3 separate regions of the Homo sapiens genome follow, and regions 1 and 2 are each linked to region 3. Evidence: promoter capture Hi-C in 16 types of primary human blood cells and fetal thymus (Javierre and others, 2016). All regions are on one chromosome and are shown on one strand. The core of a region is centred on a gene start or on the middle of the fragment in contact, and the rest is flanking DNA. Distances in the headings are between cores, read along the strand shown.

Region 1 (2,893 bases), core at 241-2,740, 7.2 Mb before region 3:
GCAGTTATTAAAAGTGTTTGCAAAAAGGAATAAGACAGTAGCTCCTGAAAACTTTTATATATGACAAATACAAAAGAATGATTTTACTTTTTCCAAAAAAGTGGAAATGACTAAGATAATGTCTACTTACTTTAAATGAACTTCAGTTTGGGAATGTATTGCTTCTCCCAACACATTTCCAGTTTCATCCACCACAGCAGCTGCTGTATCATCACAACTAGTTTCAATTCCCAATACTATTTTATGAAGAAATAGTGTTCCAGGATGAAAATTAAAACTTCTTAAAAATTCATAAACTTTCCTTTTTGATGGTTTAAAAAAAACTCCTGCAGTCTTAGTCAAGATTAGCATACTTACTCTATAGATAATTCCTGAAAAAGAATTACAGAAACAACTTATTATTTGCAACTGACATTAGCCAGCTTATTTTTCAATATATAGTTTTACAGAATTACAGGAAAGTTTGTAAAAGTCACCAAAAGTTTGTAAAGGCTATAGCAACATGGGAATATAAATAATATTATGAATGAATATAATGTTCTCCAAGGGGGAAAACAGGGGTCAGATATAAAATTTTTTAGTATTATTATTACTTGCATGCTGTTCCTACCAAAAGACTTACTATTAAGACAGCTAATATAAAGTACAATAATTGATAGAGTCCTCTGAAAAGTGCTATTTATTTTTTGACAGCTAAAATTAAGACAAAATGTGGATTTTCTAAAAAGAATCAAACAACAAAGGCAGATGGAACAGATAAAAATACTGTTAATGTATTCCATCTCCTAAAAACATCTTTCAAAATAAAACTGGATCATTTGGTTCAAAAACAAGAGTTAACATAAACACACACACGCCAACTGCAACCTAACACCTATTTTATCCTTAATTGCAATCTTTGGAATTAAATCTCCACTTTTTGCTACAGGTTTTGTCATAACAAGGATCTTCCCAAATCCTTTTCCCCCAAAATAATAGCAGCCCATCACTAAAGCACACTAGTATTTTCACACTGCGAAGCACCTAATTTTATGCCCCCAGATCATCCGTTCTAAAACTTTCTGGGTGTTAAAGCAGGGCCTTTCTCCACCACACTAAAGGGACACGGCATCCCAGGGATTAGAGATGAGCGACCTATTTGCAGAAGGCAGTTGCGGGCAGTGCAGCCCAGACAGACACAACCTAGAGGAATTAGATTTGCATTAACAAAATCTGGACAAGGAGGATTGTACGAAGCACTACCCTTTCGGGCCAAGAAAGCTGCAGGCTGAACCCACGTGACTTGGGTAGCGCTGGTCTCCTGTCGGCTGTAAGGCGGCGACGGGCGCAAACTGGAACCGCTTTTCCAGGTGCGCAAAAGCGTCAGTGGGGTGAAGAGTGAGCAATTTCACCCACCTTCCACTTGGGCGGCAGTAGCTAGCACTTGTCTCCTTTCCCTACTAAAGACTGTCGACTGCCCTTATCGCTGCAGGAGAAAGCCCGAACCTGGCGCCCGGAAGTGATGTCATCGGAACTGTGCAAGGTCCCGTCCAGAGCTGGCTGCTGTTCCGCTAGCGAGCGGCATGCTTAGTGAAGAAAAGCTTAAAGGCCGTCTTTGCCCAAAACGCTCTCTGTGCGCACCTGCATTTCCCCCAGATTTGCAGGTGATGAGAGTTCTGTAAAATTACACAGCTAGTGACTGATCCAGCGGAGGCCGAATACAGGTTTGTCTGACTACACAACATCAAGTTCCAAACACTAAGCTACATTAAAAAGAAATTTTTTTTTTGCCCTTGGCTGGAATTTGGTTGCTACTGTGAGAAAAGGATGGGGTAGATTATTCGTCATTCATTTTTAAGGGAACTATCATCAAATCTAAACTTAGGGGTGAGGTACCTGATACTTTCATCGGAGAAATAGGATGGAATCTAGCGGCGCCCCCTAGCAGGGTTACCAAAGAACGGAAGTGTTTCTCATCGGACAGTGTAAACCGTTTCTCCCACTTCACTAGGAAGAAAGGGGCTGGCTTATTTTTACAATTAAAAAAAAAAAAAATCGGGAGACTGAGGCAGGAGAACTGCTTGAACTGGGACCCGGGAGGCGGAGGTAGCAGTGAGCCGAGATCGCGCCACTGCACTCCAGCCTGAGCTACAGAGCGAGACTCTGTCTCAAAAAAAAAAAAAAAAAAAAAAAAAAGGCTGTGGTAAATATTCAGTTGCCTTAAACCATCCTATTTTCATAATGCATTATGTTGTCCTTCCTTACTATGTACATGAAATTCAGCATGGTATGTTTTCAAAGTCTTGCACCTGCTTTTTTTTTTTTTTTTCTTTTATTGGTTTGTGAACTTTGTTTTGAACATTGGACAGATTTATTCCAAGAGTCAGGCTTTTCCCCTGCTGGTATTTAAGATTTTAGTAAGCAAGGACCTTAGAATCCACTGTTGTACAGGGCTGGCATATATACCTGCACTTTGCACGTTGTGAAGCTCTGGGTATAAAAGATGAGTAAATCCCATAACAACATGTTGGGAAGCCACAGAGTACAGTCTAGAGGTGGATACAGATAAATAAGTAAATAATTACCAGAATATGGTTGAGGTTTTTTATTTGGAACTTATGTTTTTCAAAAATTTCATTTATGTGTAACAATAATGATAAAGTGGCACTATGTACCAGGCACCTGCTGTAGATTAATTTCTTTCAAAATCCCATGAAATAGTTTCTGTCCTCATTTTACAGGCAACTGGGCCACAGAGTTTGGGTGCTTTGGAGGTCACACAACTAGGAAAAGCAAAGCTAGGATTAGAAGTCAGGACATCTGGCACTGGAGTCTGTTTTCTTAACTGCTAGAAGAGAAAATAACTCACATTTTCTCTAGGGTGCACTGTTGGCCTAAACAAGGGAAAAAAGAA
Region 2 (2,985 bases), core at 406-2,905, 7.1 Mb before region 3:
GTTGCGAGGATTATTTTTTCCTAGTTACTTTGAAGTAGCACACAAACACCATCCAAAATATGCTACTTGTAGATGCTGATGACAGCAGTAAAGAATCTTCAGCATTTGACTTTAGGGTAAGACAAGACTTGTTATTATGGTTCTATTTGAAAAAATAGTTACAATGCCTTTCCAAAAGTTTGTTTTCTAGCATGTTGTTTTACTGAATAGGAAAATTCAAACTGAAAGAGAAAACCTACATTTTCTTATATCATGAGAGCAAAGTGAAAAGCCAAAAGCTAAATTTACCAACATAATAAATTTATATTAAAAAGAAAAAGCAGAACTCACCGAGCCAGTGTGTCAAGTAGTCAGACTCTTATATTTGACTTAATGTATCCATAAAGAATGGTCAGAGTTCAGATCACTTCTTTCTGAATACTCAATGTGGAAGGTACATGCTGTTGACATAATGTGGTGTAAAATTTACATGGTCAAGGGATAATGTTTGTTTCTCAATTTTGTGATTAAACTAGGTGAAAATAAGGAGTCTTCTGAATATTTCTCTAGTCAAATCAAAAACTTCAGTTTTCTTTCTTCTTTTTAAAAAAGGTTTTCCCTTCTCCTTTCCATTGAAGATGGACTCCAAAGGAAGAATTGATAATAGTTCTCAGTTCTTTTAATGATGGTGTTTACTTGAGACTAAGAATTGCTTAAAATAAAACTGTCCTGAAGAACACCTATCATCCGACGGAGGGGGAAAACGAGGCTAGATTATATTTGGAACAGCTGTGATTTTAAAATACACAAACGCTTGTATTACGGAGTTAGCATACAGAGAGGAATTTCTCATAACCCCTTCCAGCAAATGTTTCCGGAGTATAATGCTCCTTCCGCTCTAGAGACCCATAGAACAGGCATCAAGGGTTAAGGGGACGAAAAGTTAGTTACACTAAGACCGCTAAAGCCTCCAATTTATATGTGTAAATCTTTCGTCTAAACACCCATGATTTATCATACATTAAACTATTATGTCATACTTAGAACATGCCAACACTCAAGATAGTTTTCCCACGTTCCACAGGATGGAGGCCTGAAATTTACATCTCAGCTGGAAGGCAAAGCTGGTGCGGTACTCATCCTATTCCAACCAGAAAACCTTTTCCCAGCAGGTTTGCCGCGCTGCCCACGACTGGCAAACAATGACCTTACAGACCGTGAAGAGGCTGTTGGCTCTGCCCTCGCCGGTGCCTCCGAAGACGGCGACCCGCAGCGGCCCCTCAGGGGAGTCCCCCCTGCTAGACCGACAGCCCGAGCGCTCTGGGCCAGAGAAAACTCAGCAAAAGCCGCCGCTGCTACCACCTCAGCGCCTCCCCCAACCCGCCCCTTCCTTCTCGCGGCCGCACGTCACGTCAGGACCCTGGCAAGACAACGAGGATTTGCGTAGGGGGCGAGCCTCTGAGGCCACTTGGCTCTTACGGCCACGCAGGGCGCCGCAGATGCAGCCGGAGCCCGCTTTTCCCTCTCAGGACGACCCCTAGGCCGCCAGCAGTTCCCTACCGACGAAGGCGACTGTACAGCGTCCACCGCGTTCGTGCCCACTTACCCGCCGCCCCACTCCGGGCCGCCGGCTCGCAGCAGGACCAGCCCGGCTGCTACGGCCGCGGATACACGCCCTCAGGCCCGGCGCTGCGCAGCTTGCGGAAGCTTTCCCGGACAGACTCGCTGCCAGCGGATTGGCTGCGAGCAGCGCCAATCTCACGTTGCCCCCGGGCGAGGCGGGACTCAGTGCCGCGCTCTCTGCACCCGCTCTGCCGCGCGCGTGCGTGCTGGGTGCGGGTGCGGGTGCGGGGTTGGGCCTGCGCATCGGGTGAGACGCTGGCTGCTTGCGGCTAGTGGATGGTAATTGCCTGCCTCGCGCTAGCAGGAAGGTAGTGTGGTGTGACTAACGGGTATTTATTATATCCTCGATGGCTCGAGGGCCCCGTCCCCTCTACTCGTCCTGGTCCGGGCGCGAACGCTATAGGGCAGCTAAGGGCGCTCCCCGCGGGGCGGGAAGCGAAGCCGGGCTTGCGGGCGCGCACACGTGGAACGCGTTTTCTGAGCAGGTCTGGGCTCCGGGGTGTTCTGGCTTGGTCTTTGTTGCGTCCCATTCCCCAGACCCTTCTGGGTGGAGGACTTAAAATTTGTTTTCCAGGCAGCAGATTTAACCCATGGCAACTGTAACTCATCTTGTGTGAGTGGCGGTTTATAGTATTGTATCCTGTGGCATCATACAAGGGGTGCAAGTTAAACTCTTTAAAGTTAATCACGATTTTTGCTCTTGGCCTTCTGGGTTTATCCGTACGCCGAAGACAGGCACCTGTATTACATGCTAAGGAAATGTGAATACCAAAAATTGATCCTGAGGAAAGTCTTGATTAGGTTTTTTTGGAATCGCCTTTGAAATGTAATTTCCCTCACCTTGGCAGTGCAGAAAGTTTGTGATTTTTATTGCCGAAATAGCTTTCAACATTTTGAAATTGACTTAAGAGAATGTTGGCTGTGTATGTCTGTATCTTGCATTTCTGTTGGCTTTGTGAACCTAATTGTTTTGGATTTAGTCTGATCTTTAAATAAATGATTTCTTTGTGTTCTCTCTAATGGAAGTCTGTGAGTTCTCTGATCTTTACTTCTTTTTTAGGCACACCTGTTGTCCTTAACTGACTTTCCGGGTCATCAGCACTTCTTCAGAAGTGTTCCTTTTCCCTCCCAGCAAATATGGAAGACTGACTATCCTGATATTCCCAGACATTCTTTGCTGTGATTTGTAAGCCCGATATAAACCCTTCCATTTGGTACACATATGGTATAGAGTGCTATATTCCAGGGGCTATGCTAGCGATGTGTGATTGATATAAAACCCCTGTCCTCAAAGAACTCTGAGTCAGGAGCAACAGACAGAAACACATATTAATAGAGTAACTTGTGATGAGGTTAATTAGAAATGAGGTAAAGGGGGACTGC
Region 3 (3,089 bases), core at 438-2,937:
AATTATAATAGCTCTATTTTCAGTTTTTTAAAATACTAAACTAAAAAGGTTTGCTTAGAAATGAACAGAGACGACAGTAACATGTCAAAATCTTCTCCTTCGATAGCATCCCTACCAAATGTTTCCACTCTCTTATCATCATAAATGCAAAACCAAGGTAAGGATCTAAACACAAATGAAATCTAAATTTACTAGAATTTTTCCCATGGGAAAGAATGCTCTTCAGCAATTTAAACCTTAAGTAGTCTTAAGATCAAAATAATAGCAGCGTAATCAAGTAACAGGCTTCCTCCATAATGACTTGTACAAAGAAGCAATCAGGACTTGCATCCTTCACCCTAAAAAAAAAACTGCTGTGATTTTAAGAGTATACTAAAAATGTATTTTATCAATATATGTTATAGTGCATATACATTTTATGGTAGGGAATTATTACAATAGGTAGTCCATAATTAAGAGATGCACTTAGAAATAAAAGAATCATTCGGAAAAATTCTCTTAGGACAGTTGTGTAATTTGTCTGCGCCTCTTTTTACAGCTAGTCATGAATGAAATTCTAGATCCTACTATGCCGAACTAACGAAGCCATTGATTGAAAACATTCAAAATGGCATGGAAGCGGTAGGGGTGGAGAGAGAAGGGTTGGCTCTCTCTTAAACTCCGAACCCAGCGAGAAAACAAAAATAGCACCATGAAATAGATTTTGTATGCAACTATTAAGAGGCTCGGCTGCTGAGAGACATGCATAAACACAGGTATGCACACACACAGGCAAGCCCACACACGCACGGCCCCTTAACCTGCAAAATAAGAGGATCTGCAACATCTTTCCAAGAGGGGATCTAGTTTCCAATTCAATGACTCGCCAGTTTACCCATAGGCAAAACCCTGGAGTCTCTAAAAACAGCCTTGGGAACTATCTAGCCAATATACACTCTGCAGACGCTCGGTCCCTTTCTAGAAATGCGAAATCTGACGAGCAGATCACCGGGCGCGAGGGGAATTTAGGCGCGTGGGAAGCAAAGGAAGGTCCTGGGGCACGGGTTAAGGCAAGAACGCGAGAGGGATGGAGCTTCGGTTTAGGGAGAAGGGTTGAGGCTGCCTCTCTGGGCATGAGGGGGGCTGGGCCCGGCCAGTCAGAAGAGCTTGTGCCCAGGATTTGGGGCTGGGGAGGAGGCGGAGGGACAGCGGAGTAACTACGAGGACGACCACGAGGATGCTCTCGGGAAATCGTCTAACAAACACCCCACCGTGAAGAAGGGACACAAAGGGGAGGTGAGGGGGGCAGAAGGGGGATGCAGAGTCTCCCCGGGCGGAGAAAACAGAGGCGAGGACGGGACAGGGGGCCCGAGAGGCGCAGAGAGCCAAGGCAGGACGAACCCACAGAAGGAAAAAGGCACCAGGGGCCAGAGTCTTGGAGCGCCCGGCTGAGGAGAGGGCAGAACCTTACCTGATACTCCGGGTACTCAAACATGTAGCTCATACTGCACTTATTCTCCTCGAAGCCGAAGAAGACATCCCACAGCCCCAGGGTTGCCAGAAAGACCATGAAGACATAAAACGCCAGGTTCCAGAGATTAACTGAGTGAAGAAACATGGTGCCGCCACCACCGCCGCCGCCGCCGCCGCCCCCTCTACCTCCTTCTCCGCCGCGGGGCCCCAAGCCCGGACTGAGCGTGCTAGACACTGTCCGACCGCCACCCCCGGAGCCGAGCCCCAGCCGCGCGCGCCTGCGCTGATGCCCGGCCTGCCCGTTCGCCAGCCGCGCAGTGCGCCTGCGCGCACCAGGTCCGCGGCGCCTCTGGCCTGGCGACTCCCAGAGCCGAGGGAGGAGTAGGTGTTGCAGCGCGAGCGCGGATCTACGGGAAAGAGAAAGAGGGAGAAAGCAGGGTGGGCTGGGCTGGAGGGTGAGGGGAAAGAAGGGAAGTGGGGAGAGAAAGACGCGAGGAGTGGCTGGCGGGAGGGAAAGAAGAGAGAGAGAGGAAGCATCCAGAGGGGGATGGGCGGAGCGCGGGAGCCCTGGAGACGAGCCGGGGGATTGGGCAGGAGGCGGGTGTCAGATGGGTGAATCTGGGGAGGGGACTAGAGCCCAGAGTCCAGAGGCGATTAAGGACCGAGAGCGGACCGAGAGAGGGGAGGAGGACTTAAAAGCCCAGGGGTCATCAGCTGTCACCTCGCAAACGCCTCTCCCTGCGGCAGTTTAAAAACGCTTCCCGTTCAATTTTGAAAAGACTCAGGCCTCCGCAATTTCGGTTTTCCCAACGGTAGTAGAGCACACTCACAGCTCTCTGGAGCAGTTAGCTTGAAGAGGGAACAAATGGCTTTATTTTCCCTCTTCTACCGCCTACTTGGGCCCAGTAGGTAACAGCGCTTAAAAGCACCGGCTCATTAAAAAAAAAAAAAAAAAAAAAAAAAAAAACACCCGCAAGCCGACGAGATTCTGCTCTTGGTATCAGATGAAAGCCTGAATCACAAAAAGCATCGTTAGTCCTTAAAATATGTTACCAAAATATCTATTAGCACTGACGTCCCCAACAGGTATCTGCGTAATCAGTTTGACGCTGACTCGCCTTGCTCTCCAGAACCTCCATCTCTTGGGGAATGGGTTCCACGTTAACTGGAGGAGGCAATTTCGTCCAGCTTCCATTCAAACTCGCAAATGACTTAATTCGTTTTGAAGAATTTCGGTTCTGTTTTGTACAAAGGAGGAGTTTTTAAAAAAAGCTCGAAATCAATCACTTGTAGCAGCTTCAAAACACTAGAATGTTAGGAAAAAGACATCACTCTTTAAAGCTGACTCAACAGTAGACGGTGTGTGTGTGCGTGTGTGTGTAGTAACCACAGGATTCTTAGAATGGTCTTTGGCACTAAATGAATTTCATTGAACTTGGGCTGATTTTCTGGTATATTTTCTGTGCAGAGGAAGTTTGGCTACAATACATAAAATCAAAGAATTTTAAAACCAAAAGGAAGCTTATAGTTTATCTTGTACAACACCCTGATGTTCAGATTACGAAACTATGAAGAAGAAGTGGAGTGATCCTGAAAATCAAGATAGTCTTTACCCTGCACAGAAACAGTTGCAAGTC

The links. The method cuts DNA at HindIII sites, captures the fragments that hold promoters and counts their contacts. A CHiCAGO score of 5 or more calls a contact.
Region 1: a contact is called between the fragment with the promoter of OSGEPL1-AS1 here and the fragment with the promoter of PGAP1 in region 3, in 1 of 17 cell types (non-activated CD4 T cells). The highest score is 6.3, in non-activated CD4 T cells.
Region 2: a contact is called between the fragment with the promoter of ORMDL1 here and the fragment with the promoter of PGAP1 in region 3, in 1 of 17 cell types (non-activated CD4 T cells). The highest score is 7.0, in non-activated CD4 T cells.

The regions. Positions count from the first base shown.
Region 1 is chr2:189,761,290-189,764,182 of GRCh38, forward strand. OSGEPL1-AS1 (OSGEPL1 antisense RNA 1) reads left to right here and starts at 1,491. Exons shown (of 2, transcript NR_102429.1): 1 at 1,491-1,703. It overlaps OSGEPL1 (O-sialoglycoprotein endopeptidase like 1), which reads right to left and starts at 1,503. Exons shown (of 9, transcript NM_022353.3): 1 at 1,396-1,503; 2 at 131-371. The coding sequence starts at 351. It also overlaps a transcript of ANKAR not described here and a transcript of ORMDL1 not described here. RefSeq lists enhancers at 986-1,145, 1,432-2,178. The HindIII fragment of the contact is 3,776 bases long and covers 1-1,578 here.
Region 2 is chr2:189,782,684-189,785,668 of GRCh38, forward strand. It overlaps ORMDL1 (ORMDL sphingolipid biosynthesis regulator 1), which reads right to left and starts at 1,656. Exons shown (of 5, transcript NM_016467.5): 1 at 1,586-1,656; 2 at 331-440. It overlaps PMS1 (PMS1 homolog 1, mismatch repair system component), which reads left to right and starts at 1,767. Exons shown (of 13, transcript NM_000534.5): 1 at 1,767-1,910. RefSeq lists enhancers at 943-1,829, 1,115-1,194, 1,285-1,344, 1,355-1,584, 2,135-2,184 and a silencer at 1,725-1,774. The HindIII fragment of the contact is 2,480 bases long and covers 1-1,684 here.
Region 3 is chr2:196,925,020-196,928,108 of GRCh38, forward strand. It overlaps PGAP1 (post-GPI attachment to proteins inositol deacylase 1), which reads right to left and starts at 1,688. Exons shown (of 27, transcript NM_024989.4): 1 at 1,451-1,688. The coding sequence starts at 1,597. RefSeq lists a silencer at 1,637-1,886. The HindIII fragment of the contact is 4,012 bases long and covers 1-2,971 here.